Linked DNA regions of Homo sapiens: all the other regions are linked to region 1. The links are contacts of gene promoters, found by promoter capture Hi-C in blood cells and fetal thymus (Javierre and others, 2016). All regions are on one chromosome and are shown on one strand. The core of a region is centred on a gene start or on the middle of the fragment in contact, and the rest is flanking DNA. Distances in the headings are between cores, read along the strand shown.

Region 1 (3,344 bases), core at 370-2,869:
AGGGGTGGCGGAAATGAAGAGACGTTGGACAAAGGTAAAATTTAAATTATGTAGAATGAATAAGTTCCAGAGATCTAATGTACACCATGGTGACGATCATTAATAATACTGTACTGTATACTTGAAATCTTCTGAGAGTAAATCTTAAGTGTTTTCACCACACACACAAAAATTCTAACTGGCCAGGTGTGGTGGCTCACCCCTGGAATCCCAGCAATTTGGGAGGCCAAGGTGGGAAAATTACTTGAGTCCAGGAGTTCAAGACCAGCCTGTGCAACATAGTGAGAACTCCTTTCTCTAAAACAAAACAAAACAGAAAGTATGTGAAGAGATGAATATGATAATTATCTTGACTAATAATCAACATCAAGTTGTATATCTTAAATATATAAAATTTTTAAAATAGTAAAGAAAATATAATCATCATTCTCAGTAATCTATTTCCTCTAGTTTTCTTCATAATTTACCACTTTCTGAAATTACATTACACATTTGTTCATTTCTTCCTCCATTAGAACATATGCCCTACGAGAACAAAAATTTGGTCTGTTTTAGTAACCACTGTATTCTTACAACACCTAAGATATAGCCTGGCATATAGTAAACAGCCTAAAAAATATTTGTTGAGTGAATGAATAAAACAAACTTGGAAGAGATTTGAGAGATAATAACAAATATTGACCAAAGAAGAGGGAAAGCTAATATCTGAACTGATGAAAAAGATCTTTCCTAATTGTAGTGGTTTTTGTTTTAAACCTAAGAGAGCATACATTGCTCCCTAGGGTTCCTACCATACGTTTTGATTTCCTAAACACTATCTAAGTCAAATTAGATTTACCTTCAAACAATTACACATGGTGCAGCCGTGCAGCAGAAAAAGCAGTAGATGGGGAGTTAGGAGACATATGTTCTAGATCCAGCTTTGCAATTAACTTGCTTTGTGACTTTGGGAAAATCACTTCCCTCCTGTGGGCCTGTTTCCTCATATGTTGGAGTACCTCGAGGATGAGAATGGATTTTGTTTTTCCTGCTGTATCCTAGGCGCTTAGAGTAATGCTGGCCCTAAGAAATCTGTTGAATGACTGAATGAATGAACAAACAAAAGGAGGAGGCAGTACTTCATTACTGAACCTTGCTTGTGAAGAAACACAGCCGGCAAATGAGTTTAGTTTACCAAGCGCTTTCATGTGTTTGCAGACAACACACTCGGTGTCTCGCACACGAGGTTAATCCTGCTTGCTTAATAAATAAATGAATGAGTGAAGTGAAAAGGAAAGGGGGTGGTATTTCCGTTATAAAATGAGAAAACTAAGGCCGAGAGTGGAAGAGACTGGGTCCCACCACTCAATGAGTGCTTCTCAACTCGGGACCCTAACCGGACCTCCTTGTCCTTGCTCTGATCAGGCGCGGGACCACGATGGCGTAACACTCTATTTTGAATTCGTCCCTAATCCTCCTTAACTTTCCTTGAACATGACCCACCGTCCACCATAAAGCTTTACCTGAATCGAGACCAAAATTCTCTACATGGTGTCCCTGAGACTGTCCACATGAAGACTCTTCTGGTAATGCCCGACACAGATCGCGCCGCCATCTTCGATGAGATCCACGGGCCTGAGCGCAGCCTTCAGCCAGCAGTGACGCGCCCAGACCAGCCAATCGGATACAATCCCAGTGGCAAGAGCTTTCTTTTTCCTGTAGGCTCCCTCGCCCTTTGCACGCTGGGAAATGTAGTCCAGTAGCTGTTGCTGGCGGCGTCTGGACCGCGGCGCTCTTTCCGAGCATGACGGGAGTTGTAGTTGAGGGGGCCTCGGGAAGAATCTGGGTGACGCCTTCTGGTCCGGGGGCGGGCGGTCATAGCGTTACTTGGCTGCAAGGAGGAGGAACTGGCAGCGGGGAGGAGGCTCTAGCGAGGCCTGAAAGGCTGCGTAACCAGGCAGGAGTAGGGGTTGGGGTTCGGGGTTGGGGGACAGCCAGGGATCGCGTCTGATATGCTGTTGGGGTCGTGACCGTCTGGGGGCCGAGGCAGGCACTGGCCAGACCCAGCCAGGGATCCTCGTATTCGTCGAGCCTAATTTCCAGCAGCCGGGTAGGCCTCACCAGAGGCTCCTTTCCGTGAGGCCGCCCCCAATTCCTGCCCCTATTCTCTGCCTGGGAGATGGCTTCCCCGAGCCCCCCGCCGGAGTCGAAGGTAAGTAAGCACCCCCCCGGGGATCCCGGTTGTCTCGCCGCTACCCCAGCTAGGCCGCACCACTGCTTTCTCCCCCAGGCCCCCCACCAACCTCCTGACCGCCTCTTTAGGGCCAGCGCCTTGCAAGGAACTCCCCACTAGTGCATTGGGGTGCGGTTCGCGAACAAACTGCCCACTGGCTCCCTTTTTTTTTTTCTTTTTCTAGAGAGACTTGATAAATCGGCCTGAGAAAATAAGTAATGCTCCAGACTAGCTCTCTCATTTGTGAGTTCTCCAGGTGAAGCACCATTTTTGACCTTCCCTTGTGTCTTCTGTTCCTGGCACAGTGCCTGGACCCCAAGGTACACGCTTAGAGAACCTCAAGGAATTGAATTGAATAGAGTCACAAGCCAGTGCAAATGGAAAATTGAAGTAGGCAATGAGGTGAGGGAAGCTTGGAGAGGCCTTGGGGCAGTTTACTAAAATTAAACTCTCAGGGCATAATAAATCAGAAAAGCCTTATCCGTAGGTCCTTTCTAGTCTGAGATGTCTGTCAGTTACAGTTCGTTCCCAGAATTGGGCAACATATGGAACTTTCAGTTATCATGTTCCTCCTAGCCTACTTGGCCACAATAAGTGATTGCCTCTGTCACTTTTAGTGGTAGAATTGTCCTTGAGACAACAGGAACTGACTACAGAAATCATACTATTTCAGGGGTTGCTGACATTTGAGGATGTGGCTGTGTTTTTTACCCAGGAGGAGTGGGATTATCTGGACCCAGCTCAGAGAAGCCTGTATAAAGATGTCATGATGGAGAATTATGGAAACCTGGTCTCACTGGGTAAGAATCTGCTGTTTCTCTAATTAAAATATCTAAGAAGGTAGAGAGAAATCAGACTAACAGAACATTTGGACGGAAACCAGTACCAAAACTGCTTTGTTCCAAAGTTCTGATTCAAACCTTTTAGCCATTAATTGTTTCCATAACTCTCATCCCTAGCTTCCTTGAGGTGACCAAACTGCAAGCCTTTCGGGCATCCTGTCTTCATAATCTCATTCCCATATTGTTCTGTACTTTCCGTCCTGGCTCATCCTCCCACAGCTTTCCTCCCACCCCTTTTCACTCTGCGTTCTGGAACCCCTGTTCGTCTTCACATAATGTTCCTTCCCTCC
Region 2 (3,344 bases), core at 464-2,963, about 18 Mb before region 1:
AGTGAAAACACTTCTCGGTTACTCAGATGTGGACTCTGCCCCTAGTTGCTTTTTCTGACCCTACCCACACCTGTGCTAATAGTCCCTTTGTTAAATCCTGTTCACCTGCCCCAATTTGAGCATGCTGTTTCCTGCCACCACCCTGAGCAGCACAGCAAGTTTAAGATCCTTGGACATGTCTGGGGAAAGAAATCCAAGGAGAAGAATCAGATTTTCTGCTAATCATTCTGATTTGAACATTGAAAGAAATATGAGCTTTTTTTTTTCATACTGAGCTAGCGAAGCAGGGCACGAGTTAAGAGTATTTGCATACACATCTATTCCTCTTATCAAGCTTGAGAATGCCTAGAGGGTAATCTTTTAAATGAATATTAATATGATATTAACCAGCACATGGTAGATGTTCAAGAAATGTGTATTGACCATAACTGAATTGTAAGACCTCTCTCCAAGCCTCAATTTCTTCACCTGTACAGCCCCCATCCAGATTGAAATCTCACCTACTCGGGCTAAGTATATGAAAAACAAAGGCAGTGCAGGGGTAATTGAACTATTCATTAGATAAATGCTTTTATGTCACTTTTATTGTTTTCTAGGACACAGAGTAATACCTACCTTGGTTAACAAAAGACCAAAGGAGGTGATGCCAAATGCGGTTAGAAGTGCTTTTAATCACTTTGGGAGGCCGAGGCGGGTGGATCATGAGGTCAGGAGATCGAGACCATCCTGGCTAACAAGGTGAAACCCCGTCTCTACTAAAAATACAAAAAAAATTAGCCGGGCGCGGTGGCGGGCGCCTGTAGTCCCAGCTACTCGGGAGGCTGAGGCAGGAGAATGGCGTGAACCCGGGAAGCGGAGCTTGCAGTGAGCCGAGATTGCGCCACTGCAGTCCGCAGTCCCACCTGGGCGACAGAGCGAGACTCCGTCTCAAAAAAAAAAAGAAGTGCTTTTAATCAAATAGTTCAAACGACACATAATTAACATTGTTTTAAAGCAAATGGACACTTTAAAGTGGTGCTCCTTCCTCTTAAAGCCCCAACCAGTGCTGGATTTAACAGCAGAGCCATACAGCCAAGACATATGCTGCTACGGTCAACACTCAACCCTAAGTTTGACACCAAAAGATGGCCGCCATTTATTATTGTGACAAAAGGCCAGATTACAAAACGCTGTGTACGGCCTGATCCCAGTTTTACAAAATACTCATACCCATCTATCTACGACGGGGCGCGGGGAAAGGGGAGTCGTTTTAGGAAGTGCTGCTTATTGCTGCCTGGTGTGGGAAATTATGAGTCTTATTTTCTGTTTATTCTTTTTACAAGAACATTTTTATAAATGAATGAATGAATGCTTTCCATGGGTGGATGAGGATCCGGCCTGCCAGGGTGAGGATCCTCTGGAACCAAGAGGGGCCGGGGCAGTAGAACGACAGGTGGCGGGGCTTTGGGCGGCTCCCTCCAGCCCAGGGAGACGCGAGTGCCAGGCCGGGCGCGCGCTTCACTTCCGGGAAGAGGAAAGAGGGAGGGGAGGGGAGAGGAAAAGAAGGGGCAGGAGAGAGAGGCCGGGAGGTTGGGAAAGGGAGGAGGAAAGCATGGAAAAGGGGCGCGGGAAAACGGGGAGGGCGCAGAGGGGCACGGCCCTCACTGCCCCGGCCGGGGCGAGAGCGGCTCCGCCCCTCGAGCGCCGGGTAGGCCGGGGCCGGCGGGGCCCGGAAGGCGACGGGAAGGAGCCGAGCTTGGGTTATGGCGGCGCCGGGCGCGCTGCTGGTGATGGGCGTGAGCGGCTCGGGGAAGTAGGTCCGGGAGAGGGCGGGGGGCGCCCGGGACAAGTGTTGCGGGCGCGGCGGAGGCCGGACGCGTCGCCGTCCCTGCCGGTGGACTGGGGTCTTGGGGACCCCCCACCCTTCCCTTTGCAGATGAAGAAACCGAGGCCCGCGGCTGCCGCGCCCTCTCCCCGCCCTCCAGCCTGCTCGCGGGGCGCCCATCCTGGGACCGCATCCGAGCTCCGGGTTCCCGCTCTAAGACGGGGAGGCTGCGGCGACCGCAGGCTCAGGGAGGAAGCCGCTCCTGAACAGGCGGCTGCGGGGCCGCGCAGGTGGAGGCCTAGCGAGCGGCGCGGGGCTAGGTTTCGGGGCGCCTTGTCGGGGCCAGGCGGGAGGGCGCACGGCCTCTAGCGAGAGGACGCAAACCACGGCCCAGGCTCTCACAGACCTTTGGCCATCTGGACACACAGCGGCCTCCTCCTATGAGGCCCTGGACTTCTCCGATTCAATTTTGGAAAGTGAATCGTTTTCCCCTTCCTTTCATCAGCTTAACCTGGAAGGAGACAGCGTTAATATGGAGGGTGGCTCCTGAGGGTTTGGAAAGAAAGAAGAGAATTGTGGAAACCACAGAGGTAGCCCAGTGTGCTAACCTGGAGACTGAGGAGTTAACATTTGGCTTCCTGTTTAAACCAAAGTCTAACTGTGCCCTTTATCAGAAAAGACAGCTGCTGTACCATTCGACCACAGGCAGCAAAGGACAGAACTTGATCAGCTAAAACATCATAACCTTCAAGGGCCTATAGGACCCTTCTAGAATTTTCTGAATCAGGAACGGCCCATGTTGTGGCCTGTGTAGTCAGGTGTATATTAAAGATTTACTCCAGGTAGATGGGTTTTGCTTTCCAAAATTATTGTAGGGTTCTCAGCCACAAAGATAAAAAGAAATCTTGAACTGCAATTGAAATAAAACATGGAGCCCCCAAATCCCTAGCTGCCATATGATTTGAATCAGTTGGAGAATGTAAAATCATTGCCATGGTGTGATGTAACAGGAGTGAAGAGCCCTAGGTCTTGGTTCTGTTGCTGTCTGGCTGTGTGAGCCTGGGCAGTTCATGTACCCCCTCTGAGTCTTGAATCAGATGAGGGAGGCCTAATCCCTATGATGTATAGCTTGTGATATTCATGTACTCAGTAATTATTGAGCTCAATCCTTACTCTATGTCATTGTCATATAGCGAACAGGACAGATAAAATCCCTGCCCTCAAAGGATTTACATTCTGGTATGGGAGACAGAGTAAATGAATATATGTAGTGTGTGAGTTGGTGATAGATGCTCTGGAGTAAGGGGAACAAAGAGTGCCAGGCAGAGTGGTCAGGGATGTCTCCTCTGGGGGAGTGGCGTTTCAGCAAAGACCTGCAAGACTTGAGGAACCTGCCATGTGGATAGCTGAGGAAAGGGCAGGACAGGCAGAGGGAATGGCAGGTGCAATGGTTCTGAGGCTTAGCTTCTTTTGTTTTTTTTTTGTTTTGTTTTGTTTGAGGCGGAGCTTCACTCCTGTTGCCCAGGCTGGAGTGCAGTGG
Region 3 (3,344 bases), core at 584-3,083, about 18 Mb before region 1:
TCAAAAAAACGTAAAAAATGAAGTTGAACTTAGGCAAATAAGTTCACAATGCTGAAGTGACATGTACTGGTGTCATCTACTGATACGTGCAACTTACTCTGAATTGCTCCCCAAAATTAAATGAACTTGATAATCGATTATAATACCGTAAAATGCTAATTGTAGATGATGGACATATGTGTATCCACTTCCCAATTCTTTCAACTTTCCGCATGCTTGAAAATACAAAAATGGTAAGGAAAATTTTTACAAGCACTGGGAGACAAAAACAAAAGTGATAATTCTGTTGGTGGTAAAAGTTTCTCTCATTTGATGTTACACACCTCACTGCTTCACAAAATACACTACCTTTGGAACTCGTTAAACCAATACCCCAATCACCTACTGTCCCTGGGGAAACTGATAGGTACATTTCAGGAATTGTTGTTTCCTGTCACCAACTGTTCACGTTGTTTGCGATCTTCAGAGATTAAGTCAGTAATTATGGAAAACACGACGTATTCAACAATACACTAAAATTATTTGTTAAATTCCACCAAGAATCTTAATTAACTGCAAGATTTGTATTCCTGAACCAAGTTTAAGTAATATTCTGCATTCACTCCGATTTTCTTTTATTTGATTGCAACCGCTAATATCAACATCGCTATCGCCCCTCTAAAATCAAACAAAAACCTACCCAATGATTGGCATCTAAGAGATGATAAACATACTAAAAGGGAAAGAGCAAGTCATCAGTGAAAGAAAGTCATTCACTTTTCTCCTTAAACCTAGTACTATCACTATTACTTAAGATGGAGCTAAAAACAGTTTCTACGTCATAATTTTTTTTTAAAGGTTGCAAGGTGGGAAAGATTTCAGGAGTTAAAATGCAGAACTAAATATACACATGCACCTCACCCCAAAACCCACCTTAACAAGCAGGCACGTAAAACAACGAGGATCCCACCCACCCCTTTTTAATTCATGAAACAAAACCGCAGCCTGAGCTAAAGCGAACCCTCGCCCCCGCCCAGCCTCCACCCCGCCCGGAGGCTGGCGGTGGGTCCCTTTCCTTTGTGAGGAGTTGGAGGGGAGGCGACGGAGGGCGGGGAACTGGGGGAGGAGGCTGAGGGTCGGCGGATACCAGAGAAGGAAGGCTCCGAGAAAAGCGGCATCAGCCCGTCCCACAAACAGGCCGCGCCGCCACGCCACAAACCATTGCGGTGTCCCAAGGCGCAAACCCACGAACTTGGGTGTGATCTAATTTGGGACGACGCCCGGGAGAATGGCCGAGGACGACCCCTCTCCCAGGCCCTTCCAAAAGGTCTCCTGGGGCGGCGGGCGGAGGTCCTGCCGCCACCCCCATCCCGGCCCGAGCCCCAGGCGGCCTCACCTGCTGGACGGAGCTATTCTCGGGCACGGCGAATTCCTCCTTTTCCTTCGGGGTCTTCACGGTGACTTTCATGATTTTGGGCTCCGCGGAGGCAGCGGCCGCGGGGGCGCCAGCACCTTCGGCTCCGGCGGCGCTATCCTGGGAGCCCGGAGGACCGCCGCTTTCACCACTCTCGGCCATGGCTGTGGCGGCGGCGGCGGCGGTGACTCAGGCAAGCAGGAGGGAGCAGGCGAGCAAGGAGGAGCCAGCAGACACCAGAGCCGGCAGGCCTGGACAGCGAAGAATGCAGAGCACGCCGCCTCAGTAGCAACGGGCGCAGGGCCACCGTAGCGGGTGTGGGGCCCCGGAGCTCGGTGCAGGCTCTGGCGCAGGCCCGGGTCAGGCGCTCGGCAGCCGCCGTGTGTTCAGGCGCCGCTCGCTCACACCGACATCCGCAGCAGCCACCGCTTCCTCCTCCCTGCCCCTTCCCCCACGTCCCTTCGCCGGCGCCGCGCGGAGCACGCCGGGTAACGCGCCTGGCGGCGTCGCCGAGTCATCCCCGGCTGGCGCGACTTTGAGCTCAGCCTGCGTGCCTTTTCCTTTCCCGCTCCATTGCCCAAAGTGCAGGCGAAGCCAGTGTGAAGGACTAAAAGCAAAATGGGGCGGGGTAGGTCAGTTCATGGTTTTTTTCCACTCCTTTCACCAAAAACTAAATCGCAGTTTCCAGTTAAGCGCTGTAACGGCGCACCGAGATGACGTCACGGTTAGCGAAATTACTAGAAAGGGACCAGTGGGCCCTGCGGCCGCGGCTGCGCCTGCGCGCTTGCTGTCCAGGTAGTCTCCCCACCTTACCTCATGCCCAGCTGGGCCGTGTTCACCCCTCCGCGCTGTCACAATCGCCTTGCCCTCCCTTGCCTCTCTGTCTACTCTGCGTTCCCCGCTGGGAGGAGGGTCTGGTGATAAAATAGCGGCGAGGTATTTTGTTATTTTAATATGCTTAGCGTTTGATATTTGGAGGGGTCGTATTGCCCTATGCGGGGGAGTTGGGGTAAGTTAATGGTGGAAAGGCCTCAGCACAACGAACAGAAAATGGAGTGAACGCCCGTGACTGCCCTGCGCAATCCTGCGGAGTCATTGCTTCATGGCCAGAGCTTATTTACCGCCCTCGGGTTAGCCCGGTTTGGTCAGACGATCAGTCAGGCAACCTGTATTGACAGTGGCCTCTGCTGCTACGATGACAGCTGTGCGCGAGCGCCCCCAGATTATCTGTGTGTAGGGCGGAACAGGGTGCCCGAGGAGTGTCCACCCAAATGGGACAATTTAATATAGTTGAGGTGTTCGCCTTATATTCTATCAAATTAAGTTACTGGTCAATTTCAGGCTTTAAGTGGCATTAAGGATAGTTCCAAAATTATTTTCAGTGTAATACAGAGAGAAATTATCTCTGAGAATCCTAATTTGAAATGACGTCATTGGCTTTTAAAGATGACTTGCAAGGAATGTACAAACCAGCCCATTATTAATCAATGTTGCACAATTTAAATCCTGACAGCCCACTATGACCCAAATCCGCAAAGATACATTCTGCCTTTCTGCTCCTAAGCCGTCCAACCCTGTTCTGAGAATAAATACTGTTACATAAACACGACTTTTTAGCAGAGCTCTATGGAATCTGGGTCTAAGAGAATCCTGAGGGTATCGATTTCAGTATAGACATCATTTGATATCACCTAAATTTCTGGCAGCATGGCTCAATAACAAGGCCTTCTGCTTAATGAAGGATGACTACTTGGTTATGTCCAGGTGTGAGATGATCACTGCTTCTAAAGCTAGAAAGTGCCACAACTGGACAACCAATCATTTGGAATTTCTTCCATATGTCTAAATAAAATTTCTCCTCAACTTCATTAGCTCCTCATTACCTGTTTTTCCCTGTCATGCTGTGTCTTACCTGCATGCTTTGCCTAGGCTGCCTTCCTCTACCTAGAAT
Region 4 (3,344 bases), core at 507-3,006, about 17 Mb before region 1:
AAAGTGCTGGGATTATAGGCGTGAGCCACCGCGCCGAGCCTGTTTTCAGGTCTTTTAGGTATGGACGTAAGAGTGGAATTGCTGGGTCGTATGGTAATATTTAACTTTACCAATTTAGTTTTAAATGCTTTAATGCCTCCTGTTTTTAGTAGCACAATCTAAGCATCTTCAAAAACCCTTCCTTCTCTCATGAAATATAGGAATGAAGGTGGGGGAAAAAAGCTGACTATTTTATTTATAGTTTTTATTTTTTTTTCTTTTAACTGAATTATTTAAAATTTTAAAAATTCAGTCTGGGCACAGTGGCTCACACCTGTAATCTCAGCACTTTGGGAGGCTGAACTGGGAGGGTCACTTGAGCCCAGGAGTTTGAGACCAGCCTGGGCAACATAATGAGACCCCCCATCCCTACAAAAAATCAAAACTTAGCCAGGTGTGGCTGAGTATGCCTGCAGTTCCAGTTACTCTGGAGGTGGAGGTGAGAGAATGGTTTGAGCCTGGGAGGTCAAGGCTGCAGTGAGCTGTTGTTGCACCATGGCATTGCAGCCTGGGTGACAGAATGAGACTCTACCTCAAAAAAATAATAAATAATACATAATTTTTAAAATTCTAAGATTTCATTTATACACATACCTGTGTATTGAGTCATGATGTCAAGGGAATGTCTGATAGTGGCTCAGTATCAATCAAATGCGAAAGCCAGTGTCCTGGGCTTGCTTTTCAGATTGGGGTGATGGATTATTTCCTAGTCTTCCAAGGTTCCCCTCATGATTGGTGGAGATTGTGGTTGCCCAATTTGACTATAGGGCCAAGTTGCATTTTTAGAACTCTTTGAAAACAAACAAAAACTCACATCATGACTGTGAATTGGTAAGTCAGACTGGTCTGCTGACAAAACTTCAATAATTAATAGTACGTAACAATTTAAGTCTAGGAATACCCAGAAGTCTCAACAGAAGTTCTCAAGAGGCCACACAATTGCAGAGAGGAGGTCAGCAAATGCCCAACAGCATTAGAATGGGGCATTTTCCATTGTCCCCAAATTGATGTCTTGAGTCCAGAGTTAGAGAAAAGGAGTTACTTAAGTTCCCCACACTGTGAAGTGAATGCCAGTCATTGCCAACCCCTCCTCCCTAGGATTTATAGCAGGACTAAGCTAATTCCATTCAAATTCCAATCCTATCTCTTTTTTAAGTATCTGTAAGAAAGACTCGGCAGTGGAGTCAAGGGGTCTTGGGCCTTGTGGGTTGGAGAGTAAGAGGCCTCCCACCTAAGTCAAAGGAGGCTCTAAGAGTGACGGGCAAACCCTGTGTGATGTGCTAGAAGAGGAAACCTGGCCTTCTGGTGGGAGCAACTAGGGGAAGAAGTGAGCTGATCTTCTTCTCAAGAATGGAGCGAAGCAACTGAGATGTTGCTGTAGTAGAGCAGTCTGTGTTCCTGCAGTTTAGCAGGGGGAGAAGCTGTGATTTGCTCATGGTCCAGGGGATCCTTTGGAGGGTACCCAAGCTTGAGCCCCATGAAGATTGTCTTGAGGACTGTCTCCTGCAGATAAGTCCCCATCAGTAAGAGGCAGTGGGAGGAGCTGGGCTTGGGATTAGCAGAAGTAATTGAGCCAGTGCTGGATCTTCTTAAGGGAACTAGGTCTTCTCCTTAAGGGAACTGTATCTTTCAGGTCCACTGAAGAACTCTGCATATGTCCCATGGGAGACCAGCTTTGGGCTGCTTGTCCTACAGAGAAAAACATCCATGCCCAGTCCACTTTACCAGAAAAGCAGTAACAAACAGAAGATTACAGCTAGACCAAATTAAATAAAGAAATATGTGCCCTTTTCGCCTAAATCATCTTCCCTCACCCATATTTTGAGAAAAGCTGGATCCAGGAAAGAAAGGAAGTATTAAAGGAAGTATTAAGGAAACCACAGATCATACCTCTTCTCCCACTTTAAATTCTTTTAATGTTGCTATAATGTTTGATGAATTCCCTTAATTTCTCTGGCGGGGAGAAAAGAAGCTTTATACTTTAAAAATGGGGTTTCTTTAAAAATGGGGGTGGGCGGTGGTGCACGCCTGTAATCCCAGCACTTTGGGAGGCTGAGGCGGGCGGATCATGAGGTCAGGAGTTCGAGACCAGCCTGGCCAACATAGTGAAACCCCGTCTCTGCTAAAAATACAAAAATTAGCCGGGCATGGTGGCATGGCCCTGTAGTCCCAGCTACTCAGGAGGCTGAGGTGGGAGAATCGCTTGAACCCAGGAGGCGGAGATTGCAGTGACCCGAGACCATGCCATTGCACTCCAGCCTGGGTGACAGAGTGAGACTCCGTCTGAGAAAAAAAAAGGGGGAGGGGTGGTTTCTGTGCCATCATTTTGCCTTTGGCTCCTTAACTTAGTGCAGAGAATGTTAGCTTTCCTAAGGAAACATACTGCTTGGGTCCTGTCAACTGGTGCCAGGTGGATTTGCTTGGCCCTATGGTCAAATTGGGCAACCACAATCTCCACCAATCATGAGGGGAACCTTGGAAGACTAGGAAATAATCCATCACCCCAATCTGAAAAGCAAGCCCAGGACACTGGCTTTCGAATTTGATTGATACTGAGCCACTATCAGAAATTCCCTTGACATCATGACTCAATACACAGGTATGTGTATAAATGAAAACAAGGCCAGGCACAGTGGCTCATGCCTGTAATCCCAGCACTTTGGGAGGCCAAGGCAGGTGGATCACTTGAGGTCAGGAGTTCGAGACCAGCCTGGCCAACATGGTGAAACCCCTCTCTACTAAAAATACAAAAATTAGCCGGGTGTGGTGGTGCGTGCCTGTAGTCCCAGCTACTCGGGAGGCTGAGGCAGAAGAATCACTTGAAACCGGGAGGCAGAGGTTGCAGTGAGCCAAAATCATGCCACTGCACTCCAGCCTGGGAAACAGAGCGAGAGTCCGTCTCAAAAAAAAATAAATAAAATAATAAAAATAAAAATACAAAAATTAGCTGGGTGTGGTGGCACGAGCCTGTAATCCCAGCTACTCGGGAGGCTGAGGCAGGAGAATCACTTGAATCCTGGAGGCAGAGGTTGCAGTGAGCCGAGATTGCACCACTGTACCCCAGCCTGGCGACAGAGCGAGACTCCATCTCAATAAATAAATAAATAAATAAATAAATAAATAATAAATAAATGAATGAAAACAAAAGTTTTGGGAAACAATACTTACCTTTACTAAGTGCAATGTTCTATGTATTTTATTTTATTCTATTCTACTTTTCTTTTTTTTAGAGACAGGATCTTGCTATGTTGACCAGACTGGTCTCGAACTCCTGGCCTCAAGTGATCCTCCCATCTCAGCCTCCC
Region 5 (3,344 bases), core at 394-2,893, about 17 Mb before region 1:
TCTCTAAATCTGACTGTGGCTTAACATTAAGGACCTCAAATGATGGTTCTAGCCTTTTTTATTTTTTAAGAAAAACAAACGATGTTTCAGTAGCAGGCTGGCTCATGAGGGTAGACACAAAACCTGACTCAAAGTTTACTGAAATTCTTGAGGAAATGGGGAAATTAATAACCCAGATAATTATACAGAACATCTGGATTAAGAGGAGAGAGGTTTATAAAAGACAAAACAAAAATTCCCACACCACCAAAAACCCTAACTAATAAGACTGGTTTGGTTTTCTGGAGGTTTTGAAATGCATTCCTAGATCCTAACAGGCAAGTTTGTAAAATTTTAAACAAATTTTCAAGTTCAGTTTACAGTAATCAAGAGGAACATACAAAGATCTGCGACCAAGAGAGAAATGAAATACTGTCAAATAAGTACTCGACACAAAGTTATTTGCCTCATTTTTAGCAAGAAAAACATTAAGAAATGTGTACACTATGAGAAAAAAAATTTAGAAATTTTGGTGTAGCCAAGTCCTATAAATGTGCTCACTTCTGGCACTGCCAACATTTAATGTGTCTAATCACAAGAGTCAACCCACTGTAAAATGAAGACTCAAACAAATCATAGGCATTGACGAACAGTTTCCCAATTATAAGATTAAGTGCCTACTCTATTCTTTACCCATATTTAAATCATGCAACCTCAACATTAAATTCTTTGTGCTCCATGTGCAAGCTGTTAAAGAACAGATGGACATTTTTCTTCCCAAAGAAAACAAAAAAATTTTTCTGGATTTAACCAGCCACCTGCAATGGTTTTCAGTAATACTGTAATTGATTCACACACAGGAAATGGTGCAATCAAGGATTTTTACACTTTGTCGCTATTTCTAATTAAGATGTTATCTTGCTTGATGAAGTGAATAATTTGGTGGACTCTTATTAAAATGTGAAGAGGTTTGAAAGAAACCACCCCCCCACCCTGCTCAATCTGGGCTTTTGTTAAAACAGGAATGGATAACTTCGAAATCAATTCTGTAATAATAAATTATTACAAATGTCTTTGTAGCTAAACTATGAAATGATTTCTAGGATGTAAATCTTTAAATTTCTATAGACATATAAACTGAAGCTGCTCGTGTAGTAGTTTAAACTCTTAATACTTACGTCTGTACGGAGAGCCTTAATATTCTTGCCTCCTTTTCCAATCACTGCCCCAGCATTCTGGAGAAGATACAAAGACAAAAAATTATTTTGCCTTTCCCTAAAATTAATAGCTACCTACGCTCTTAGATTTTGCTAAAAAATCCTCTAACCTGTTTGTTATAAGAATAAAAATCTATTTGGGGTTGTAAAAACGACCAGGCCAAAACCAAACCAAAAATCAAAATATAATTCTAAGTGCTGTGAGGACTAGATAGTTTGGAGTACTCAATGTCAGAAATAACACCAAGTATAAAATAAAACTAAGCACAGATTTTATAGCACCCTTTGGTAAAATAAGTCAATTAATTTAGTATTAGTAGGTACCTTCATATTGTGACCTGTGATCAAACAATAAACTGCCAACCAAGCAGTTTCCTAAGGAGTCCACACATAATTAAGATTTAATCTATTAACACTTTAAGAATCACACTCTCCTCCTAGTTTGACCTGTAGTGGCGGTTCACTACAGCAAGGGCTTTAATCTTAACTGTTAGTGGAATAAGAAAACCACCAGAGCCTTCAAGTCTGTTTAGAAAGAACCAAATGTTTTATATTCTTCAATCTGTAAAACTTTGACTTTCTAGAAAGCCAAACCAGACCTTAATTTCTACCTGAGTATGAACCACCTTCAAATTTTCAAGAATAAAATTTATACCTTGCTCTGAAGCAGAATGCGTAATTCAACCATCTCATCAGTGTTTCTAGATCTTTTAAATGCTTGTTCCTCTTCCATATCTTCTGCAGGGCGTTTACCTAAAAATTAACAGTTCACATTTCAAAGAAAGCAGCGAAGTCTCCAAAGTAACTCCATTCTGTTTCAAGAGACTTGTTGCTAATCTTAGGCATGTTTTGAAAAGACCAAAGGCATTGCTACAGACTTGAACGTTATGCTTCCATCTAGTAAAATGCACCAAACACAAAATACTGCCACAAAATACTTCAAAGGATTTGAAATCCCAAAATGCAAGAAAAATTCTTTATATGCAAATCAGTTACTTCTACTTCATAAATAAAAGCTAAGATGTAACTACTGATAATCGCAGAATTACATAAACAGTAATACCAAAAATTCACCACACACTCCTAAGGCAATAATTAACAGAAAAAGGCAATTTATTAACAGGATAAAAAAATACTGTTAAAACTAAAATTTCTTCTCACCAAATTCACCATTGGTTTCAGTGTTAGGGAAGGTTTCTTCTGGCTGTTCAGTTTCCATATTCTTTTATTAAACGGGCACACCAATCTGTGGAAAAATAAAGCAGCTAGTACATTTGGCTTATTGGAAAGCAAGCTGTAAAAAAAAAAAAAAAAAAAAGACATTGCTTCTAGAACGTACCAGTTATTATATATCCTTGCAGAGCAGAACTGAAGCGTTCTGGGTCGGACCAACAACTGACACCCCAGTGCTGCAGTAGCCTATAAGAACCAACACAAATCAGTTTTGCTTTTGTTTATTCTTATTACTGAATATTTGTTTCCGATCACAGTGAATACTGATTTGAACCCAAAAAACCAGCTGTTTCTAAAACTTGATTCTTCATTTTAGGGTTTCACAATTCAAATGACTGCCTAAAAAATACAAAATTCAAGGGAGCCTGGTTTCATTTTTTGCTAAGTTAGAACAATAACTTTTAGCCACTGGATTAAGTCCCACCACAGCAATGAATTGTTTTATACGGCACATTCCCAAAACCCTGAAAAGATAAATGTCATCCACAAAGCATACATTTATGAAAAGTTACAATGCATCTTATTCACTGGGAAAACTAATTTTATATTAAAACTTCCAATTGCTTTCCTATTTCTTTCGACTCATGCTTGAAGCGATCTTATGTGACATCTCTAAAGTTTACAAATACAACGGCAATTGCGAACACATCCAACAACCAGAACAATCTACCGGAGGGATAAATCCAAAAATCTAATATAGGACCAGACCCAAACTACCACAATACCAGTCTATTATTAATCAGCGAAACAAATGGAGCCCTTGAAAACTAACAGTCACTAGCGGATTATTTTAAATTAGGCTTAAGGGAGTACAACACAACAATCATGCCTGTAACACGAAAACTAAAGTGTCTACGTGCCAAAACGGTCGATAGGACTACAAACAGCCTTTTTAAGCTTCCCTCTTGTCGGGAC
Region 6 (3,344 bases), core at 383-2,882, about 15 Mb before region 1:
TAAACAGTATGAACAAAAGTCATTTCTAGGCATGAAATTATGGGTGATCCTGATAGTTTTGCTGATATGCATGGGTAACTTTTCTGTTGAAACATATATTGGTTTTATAGCAATATATATATTGCTATAAAATATATATTATATTAATATATTATATATAATAAAATTATAATAAGCACTAAAAGAGAATTTAAGTCACTGAACAGTAACTGTTCGATGTAACATTTAAGGAAAGATGACTTTAAATTCCCCAATTTACTTTGCAGTTTCCACACCAACATGTTTGATTTTGCAGCAACATACCTGTTGCAATGCTTCATGTTACTCGTATTTCTGGGACAATGGTAATACAGCAGAGTAATGATTATTTTCTCCTTCAATGAGATAAAGCCAATAGAAACTGAAATTTGATTATTATTTTCTCTTTTAGAAAACTTCTTTCTTTTTTTGAGACAGGGTCTTGCTTTGTGCCCCAGGCTAGGGTGTGATCATAGCTCACTGCTGCCTAGAATTCCTGGGCTCAAGGATCCTCTTGCCTCAGCCTCCTGAGTAGCTGGGACTATAGGCCACACCACCATGCCCAGCTAACTTTTAAAATTTGTAGAGACAGGATCTCACTAGGTTGCTCAGGCTGGTCTTGAATTCCTGGGCTCAGTCAATCCCCCCACCTCAGCCTCCCAAAGTGCTGGGATTATAGGTGTGAGCTACTGTGCCCAGTTTTGAAAACTCTTATTATGAAAACATTAAATAAGTACAAAAGTAGAAAGAGTAGTAAAATGAACTCTTATATTCATCACCATCTTCCACAATTGTCAGCAAATCTTATTCCCTCTATCCACTCATCCCCAGCCCCACTGAATGATTCTGAGGCAAATATCAAACATCATATATTTTCACTCATAAGTATTCCAGTATGGCTCTCCGAAAGACACACATTTTTTAAAAAGGTTACTACAATGTCATTATCCCACCTGAAAATTTTAATGTCTTTTTCTATTTTTTTTTTTTTTTTTTGAGACAGAGTCTCACTCTGTCACCCAGGCTGGAGTGCAGTGGTGCGATCTTGGCTCACTGCAACCTCTGCCCTCCGAGTTCAAGCGATGTCCTGCCTCAGCCTCCTGAGTAGCTGGGATTACAGGTGCCTGCTACCGCTCCCGGCTAATTTTTTGTATTTTTAGTAGAGATGGGGTTTCACCATCTTGGCCAGGCTGGTCTTGAACTCTTGACCTCATGATCCACCCACCTCGGCTTCCCAAAGTGTTGGGATTACAGGCGTGAGCCACTGCGCCTGGCCAATTTTAATTTCTTAATATCATCAAATATCCGGTCAGTGTTCACATTTATTCAATGGCTTCAAATTGTTTACAGTTTATTTCAAATAGGACCTAAAGTTTATCTAATTCATAAGTCTTTTCAATATTTATTCTTTCTACTTTTAAATTTATATTTATTTATTTATTTATGAGGCAGGGTTTCACTGTCGCCTAGGCTGGAGTGCAGTGGTGCAATCTCAGCTCACTGCAGCCTTGACCTCCTGTGCTCAGGTGATCCTCTGGCCTCAGCCTCCCAAGTAGCAGGGACTATAGGCACATGCCACCACGCCTGGATAATTATTTTTGTGGGTTTTTTTTTTTTTGTTTGTTTGTTTGTAGAGACAGGGTTTTCCCAGGTTGCCCAGGCTGGTCTCGAACTCCTGGGCTCAAGCAATCCTCCCCGCCTCAGCCTCCCAAAGTGCTGGGATTACAGGCGTGAGCCAACTGCACCCAGCCTAAGTTTATTAATTTTACATTGTATCTGCAATTGGTTGATATTTGTCTTATGTTCATTTCCCTTTTGAAAGAAACTTAAGAATTTCAATATCTATGCATTAGACAATTCATTGATGAAATGTAAAAAAATCTATAAATGTAGTAGTTATTTTTTTAGTAAAAAATTCACATATTGATAGACCCCAGGAAGCTGCTTGAAAATTACTAATGTAAAAGTTATTTGAATAGGAATTTTAAAAGGAAAACATATATTAAATATTATGTTATGTATGTATATTATTAGGATAATAATTGGGAGTTAACGTCTCTCTCAGATTCAGTGAACCACACTCTTCTGGTTTTTCTTCTGCTGTTTACTCTGAGCCCTTTATTAGGTCCTCTTACTCTACCTGACCTCTAAATGTTGGGGTTCCTCAGTAGGCCATTTGAAGCTCACTTCTTTTGCATCATTTTTTTTAATGAAATCACTGTAATACCCCTAGTTGTAAATGATGTCTTTATTGGCAAAATGGACCAAAAACAGTTTCACATAGCAAATACCAAAACAAAGTAAAAAGGGCAAATGACACACTGGCTTACAAAAACTGCAGCTTCAATCAAGAGTTAATATATACAGCTTCTTAAAAACAGAAAAGAAAATAATCAGCCAGGTGTGGTGGCTCACGCCTGTAATCCCAGCACTTTGGGAGGCTGAGGCAGGCAGATCACGAGGTCAGGAGATCGAGACCATCCTGGCTAACACGGTGAAACCCCGTATCTACTAAAAATACAAAAAAATTAGCTGGGCGTGGTGGCAGGCACCTGTAGTCCCAGCTATTCGGGAGGCTGAGGCAGGAGAATGGCGTGAACCCGGGAGGTGGAGCTGGCAGTGAGCCGAGATCGTGCCACTGCACACCAGCCTGGGCGACACAGCGAGACTCCATCTCAAAAAAAAAAACAAACAAAAAAACCCCAAAAAAGTAGCCAGGTGTGGTGGTGCGTGCCTGTAATCCCAGCTATTTGGGAGGCTGAGGCAGGAGAATCGCTTGAACCTGGGAGGCGGAGGTTGCAGTGAGCCAAGATCGCACCACTACACTCCAGCCTGGGCAACAAGAGCGAAACTCTGTCTCCAAAATAATAATAATAATAATAATAATAATAATAATAATAATAATAATCAATGATCCTATAGAAAAATGGGTTAGAGACAGGCACAGACTGATCATAGAAAAAGATGCAAATAGTCATTAAAAAGATAGATTCTCCACCCCACTCATGATAAAAGAATGCGAATTACAGCTATACTGAACATTTTTATCACTTAACAGCTTGGCAAAATTCCAAAAGTTTGACCATATACTTTATTGATAAAGGCTATGGGAAAGCAAGCACTCTCTCATACACAGCTTGTGGAAATAAAAATCAAATTCTAGGCGCATCTTTATGAGATGAAAACAAAATCAACTTCAGGCGTGACTGCAACCTCTAGCTCGATTCCAGAGTCCCCAAAAGCACTGAAGCAGCTGGACAAAGAGCAGGTTGAAAAGGCAGTGGACACTCTGTTGACACATTGCAAGTCCAGGAAAAATGATCATG
Region 7 (3,344 bases), core at 340-2,839, about 14 Mb after region 1:
GAAACAGAAATATTCTCACTTTGGCAGGTCATGTGGGTGGGTGCAGCTCTTAAATTACCCATTAACAACTTCATCAAAAAATTCATGAGCAATATATGCTATTACTACAGCATTTTCTATATAATATATACTGGTAGATTCTCTGTAAACACCAATTTTCTAAAATATGAAGAAGCTTCCTCTTTCTCCTCCTCTTCTGTTTTCAGAAACAAATCTTACCATTTACTTCAAAGTAAATCTCCGAAGACAGTCTGACCCTGTACAGTGTGTACCCAACGATTGCTTAGTATTGTGAGGAACATCAGAGAGAACAGGTGCTAAAAACCTTTCAACTTTCTGCTTCTATGTGCTGTTTCTTTTTTTTTTTTTTTTGTGACGCCCTAACTTCTTCAAAGTTGTGGCTTAAGAGGAAGCTTTCGATTTGTCTTGCTGGCTTTAACACCAAAATGTCCAAAGCTCTAAGAAGCCATGGTCTTCTCTTTCGCCTCCTTTCCTTCTAGACCTTGGCCTCTGAAACTTAGCTCCTTGTATAAAACAAAAGCAAAAACAAAACTCTTGGCAATGGGTGAGGCCTCAGAAACCTCCAGGACACTCAGACTTAGGATATAGAACCTCAGAATCCAGTCTGAAGTCCTTGAAGACATGATAACAACTTGTGCAAATGTGTTATCAGGTTTCTCTATTGCTTCCTTCCTTGATATGGGTCTCTGGCTCATTAAGATTTAAATCTTAACTTTAAAAGGCCAATAGCTCCCCTCCACTGTTTTGCTCAGACAGATCTGCAAAGTTTTAAGATGATGGTCTAACAATATTTTTCTCAACAAGCCAAATTATTTTAGAGAGTTAAGTTCCTCTTTCTTTTCTCCCTTTCTCATATATATATATATATATAATATATACTGTATAATATAATATATATTATGTAACATAAGTGTATTACGTTATACAGTATATACTATAGTATATATATATATATAGAGAGAGAGAGTTTATTTATTTAATTTTATTTTGTGCTCTTAACCAACAAACGAATATCATTTGTTCCCAGGGCTCTTTCTCTCGGGAAAACAACAAGAAAAGGAAAGGGAGGAAGAGGAGTCCACTTACCGTCCTCTGAACGACCAACACCATAATAGTGGCCACCGTGAAGACAAGGCACAGAGCCAGAGTGGCTGTGGTCAAATAGAAATAGCTGCGGCTCGTGGTCCCCAGGTGGCTGGCCACGGAGCCCGCCGGCACATGCATGGCTGTGTCTCCAGGAGGGGCCATTCCGTTGAGTGCTTGCTGCAGCCCTGGGTCCATTCTTTATATAGTCTTCCCCACATCACACCTTATCTCTCTTCATCTGATTCAGTTCTGGGCCCATCTCTGTTCCAAGAAGGATTCTCCCCCTGAATCCTGAATCATGTGACTTGGAAAAAAACCTTCACCTGCTGCCTGGTGGAGAAACTCTTCTCTGGGGGCGTGAGGCGAGAGGCGGCAGCAAGGGTGGGGGAGAGGTTCATTTTTCATTGCCAGGGATTAAGTTGTGTGCAGAGAAACTAGCTACAGAGAAGGTGGCTGATGTCAGAGGGCGCGTAGGAAAATGACGGTTCCCCGACTGTGTGTGTGTATGTGTGTGTGTGTGTGTGTGTGTGTGCATGCGTGCGCACACACAAAGCAACTTCTGTTTCGTTTAGACTCTGCCACAAAACGCCTTCCTGTTCAAGAAGCTGCACCTTCTTTCAGCGAGGCCTGTGGCTCAGAAGACCTCCCCAGATAATGAGTCCTTGCTGGGTCTCAGGGAGGCCGGATCCCTCGGACTGCAGTGTAATAACTCCAAAGGGTTCGGTTTGATAGGCTACTGCTGAAAAAGGGACATGCTGCAGGTTCCCTGGGGGAAAAAGGGCACACAAATGGAGATATTTCTCCAAAGGGGGACTGGCTCATGGCAGTATGAAATTTGGGGTTCAAAGATACTGTCAGAAAGCAGGAATCTGGAAATATCAATCTTTTGAACAAACACTCCTGCAGAAGTTTTGGGATCTGTTAAACTGGCAGATGAACCTGGACCTGCCGTAAAACTCATGAAGAGGGGAAGGAATTGGCAGTGAGATGGTGTGGTGTGGAATATGGGGGCTGTGTGTGTTCTGCGTGGTGTACTATGTAGTGTGTGTGTATTTGTGGTATGGGGGTATGTGTAGGTGTTGTGTGTTCTCTATGGTATATGTATGCAGTGTGTGTGTGGTGTGCATTTGTGATCTGCAATGCATGCCGAGTGTGGTGCGTATGTAAGTGTTGTGTGTGGTGTGTATGTATGTGTTGTGTGTGGTGTGTTGTGTCTTGTGTATGTATGTGTTGTGTGTGTATGTGACTACTATAATTGAACCTCTACTGTCTCAGGCACAGCGCTAGGAGTTACATGTGGCTTCATTCCACTTCCACCTCCACCCTCCGAGGCAGGCAATGTTTATTTTTTACAGATGGGAAAACTGAGGCTCAGGGAGGATGAAAACTATCTCAACCTAAGTCGCAAGTGTCGATCACTGAAAGAACTTGGGTGCACTTTGCAGCCTGCCTGGCTGAAAGCTCGTGCTAAGTCATTCAATCTTCACTGCACCTGAAAGCTAAAACCTGAAGTGTGGTCTCAGCCCTTTCCCTTCTTAGCCTTGGGCCATCATACAAGTCTTTATGGCTTTCTCTGTTCCCAATCTGCATTACAGTCATCAGGAAGACCAAGCGAGATGATGTCAGAGTACTCCATGAATAAAAATAGATTTGGGGATGGTGTTGGACAATTCCTGTTAAACATCCCAAGCTGTCTACTGGGCTAAGTCTGGAATTTAGATACAATAGACAGATTACCTGGGGGACAGAGTCAGATCACATCTGTGGTTACTAATGATCTCCATTTCAAAATACCGTTTAAAATGTTAATCACTGCATAGCTGCTGCCTCCAGATGTGGGCCTTTGAAAGCTCCATTTGGTATCACCGTGGAAGAAGCTCATTCTGCATAGCACCTCCTTTCCTTTCTGCTCACTTTTTGTCTGCAGCGCATCACTTTGAGCCAGCAGAGATCCCAGATGCCCCTAAGGAAACGTCCTGTGTCTAAAGCCAAGCTTGGATTATTACCACTGCTGTTCTTGCATAGAACCAAAACTTCTGAGCATCTCCCAAATTAGATCAGGCTTTAGGATTTGGTCTGGATATTTCCTCCCAGTGAGTCTGTAAAAGCATAGATCCTGGAGACGAAAGAGACATCAAGAGATAAATTGTTTTCTTGGGCTAAATAGAGTGGGGGGCGATATACCCATTTTACAATCAAGGAAACCGAGGCCCCCGTGATCCCAATTGAGTTTGGTT

The links. The method cuts DNA at HindIII sites, captures the fragments that hold promoters and counts their contacts. A CHiCAGO score of 5 or more calls a contact.
Region 2: a contact is called between the fragment with the promoter of IDNK here and the fragment with the promoter of MRPL50 in region 1, in 4 of 17 cell types (total CD4 T cells, fetal thymus, naive CD8 T cells and 1 more). The highest score is 10.5, in total CD4 T cells.
Region 3: the fragment with the promoter of UBQLN1 here is called in contact with the fragment with the promoter of MRPL50 in region 1 in 3 of 17 cell types (non-activated CD4 T cells, total B cells and total CD4 T cells); the score reaches 11.0 in non-activated CD4 T cells.
Region 4: a contact is called between a fragment that was not itself captured here and the fragment with the promoter of MRPL50 in region 1, in 2 of 17 cell types (naive CD8 T cells and activated CD4 T cells). The highest score is 6.6, in naive CD8 T cells.
Region 5: a contact is called between a fragment that was not itself captured here and the fragment with the promoter of MRPL50 in region 1, in 2 of 17 cell types (non-activated CD4 T cells and activated CD4 T cells). The highest score is 9.0, in non-activated CD4 T cells.
Region 6: a fragment that was not itself captured here is called in contact with the fragment with the promoter of MRPL50 in region 1 in 1 of 17 cell types (non-activated CD4 T cells); the score reaches 8.7 in non-activated CD4 T cells.
Region 7: a contact is called between the fragment with the promoter of TNFSF8 here and the fragment with the promoter of MRPL50 in region 1, in 1 of 17 cell types (fetal thymus). The highest score is 5.5, in fetal thymus.

The regions. Positions count from the first base shown.
Region 1 is chr9:101,396,999-101,400,342 of GRCh38, forward strand. It overlaps MRPL50 (mitochondrial ribosomal protein L50), which reads right to left and starts at 1,620. Exons shown (of 2, transcript NM_019051.3): 1 at 1,503-1,620. The coding sequence starts at 1,594. It overlaps ZNF189 (zinc finger protein 189), which reads left to right and starts at 1,853. Exons shown (of 3, transcript NM_003452.4): 1 at 1,853-2,191; 2 at 2,886-3,012. The coding sequence starts at 2,159. RefSeq lists enhancers at 733-1,262, 1,263-1,791, 1,324-1,853. The HindIII fragment of the contact is 1,128 bases long and covers 1,495-2,622 here.
Region 2 is chr9:83,621,430-83,624,773 of GRCh38, forward strand. IDNK (IDNK gluconokinase) reads left to right here and starts at 1,714. Exons shown (of 5, transcript NM_001001551.4): 1 at 1,714-1,792. The coding sequence starts at 1,743. RefSeq lists a silencer at 1,409-1,938 and enhancers at 2,119-2,248, 2,269-2,318. The HindIII fragment of the contact is 10,566 bases long and covers 333-3,344 here.
Region 3 is chr9:83,706,125-83,709,468 of GRCh38, forward strand. UBQLN1 (ubiquilin 1) reads right to left here and starts at 1,834. Exons shown (of 11, transcript NM_013438.5): 1 at 1,376-1,834. The coding sequence starts at 1,555. UBQLN1-AS1 (UBQLN1 antisense RNA 1) reads left to right here and starts at 1,711. Exons shown (of 2, transcript NR_135839.1): 1 at 1,711-2,188. RefSeq lists enhancers at 857-1,747, 1,515-1,584, 1,748-2,636. The HindIII fragment of the contact is 7,028 bases long and covers 1-3,344 here.
Region 4 is chr9:83,922,994-83,926,337 of GRCh38, forward strand. LOC105376335 (serine/arginine repetitive matrix protein 1-like) reads left to right here. Exons shown (of 3, transcript XM_011519284.2): 3 at 1,673-1,892. The coding sequence ends at 1,809. Among named protein-coding and RNA genes, the nearest start is that of KIF27, 3.2 kb to the left of the region's middle. The HindIII fragment of the contact is 505 bases long and covers 1,505-2,009 here.
Region 5 is chr9:83,975,838-83,979,181 of GRCh38, forward strand. HNRNPK (heterogeneous nuclear ribonucleoprotein K) reads right to left here. Exons shown (of 17, transcript NM_031263.4): 2 at 2,536-2,615; 3 at 2,358-2,442; 4 at 1,852-1,949; 5 at 1,158-1,214. The coding sequence starts at 2,415. Among named protein-coding and RNA genes, the nearest start is that of HNRNPK, 2.7 kb to the right of the region's middle. The HindIII fragment of the contact is 3,362 bases long and covers 1-3,324 here.
Region 6 is chr9:85,931,380-85,934,723 of GRCh38, forward strand. It overlaps the pseudogene LOC100130049. Among named protein-coding and RNA genes, the nearest start is that of NAA35, 8.1 kb to the right of the region's middle. The HindIII fragment of the contact is 3,789 bases long and covers 1-3,344 here.
Region 7 is chr9:114,929,002-114,932,345 of GRCh38, forward strand. TNFSF8 (TNF superfamily member 8) reads right to left here and starts at 1,590. Exons shown (of 4, transcript NM_001244.4): 1 at 1,108-1,590. The coding sequence starts at 1,302. RefSeq lists an enhancer at 684-1,243. The HindIII fragment of the contact is 2,687 bases long and covers 412-3,098 here.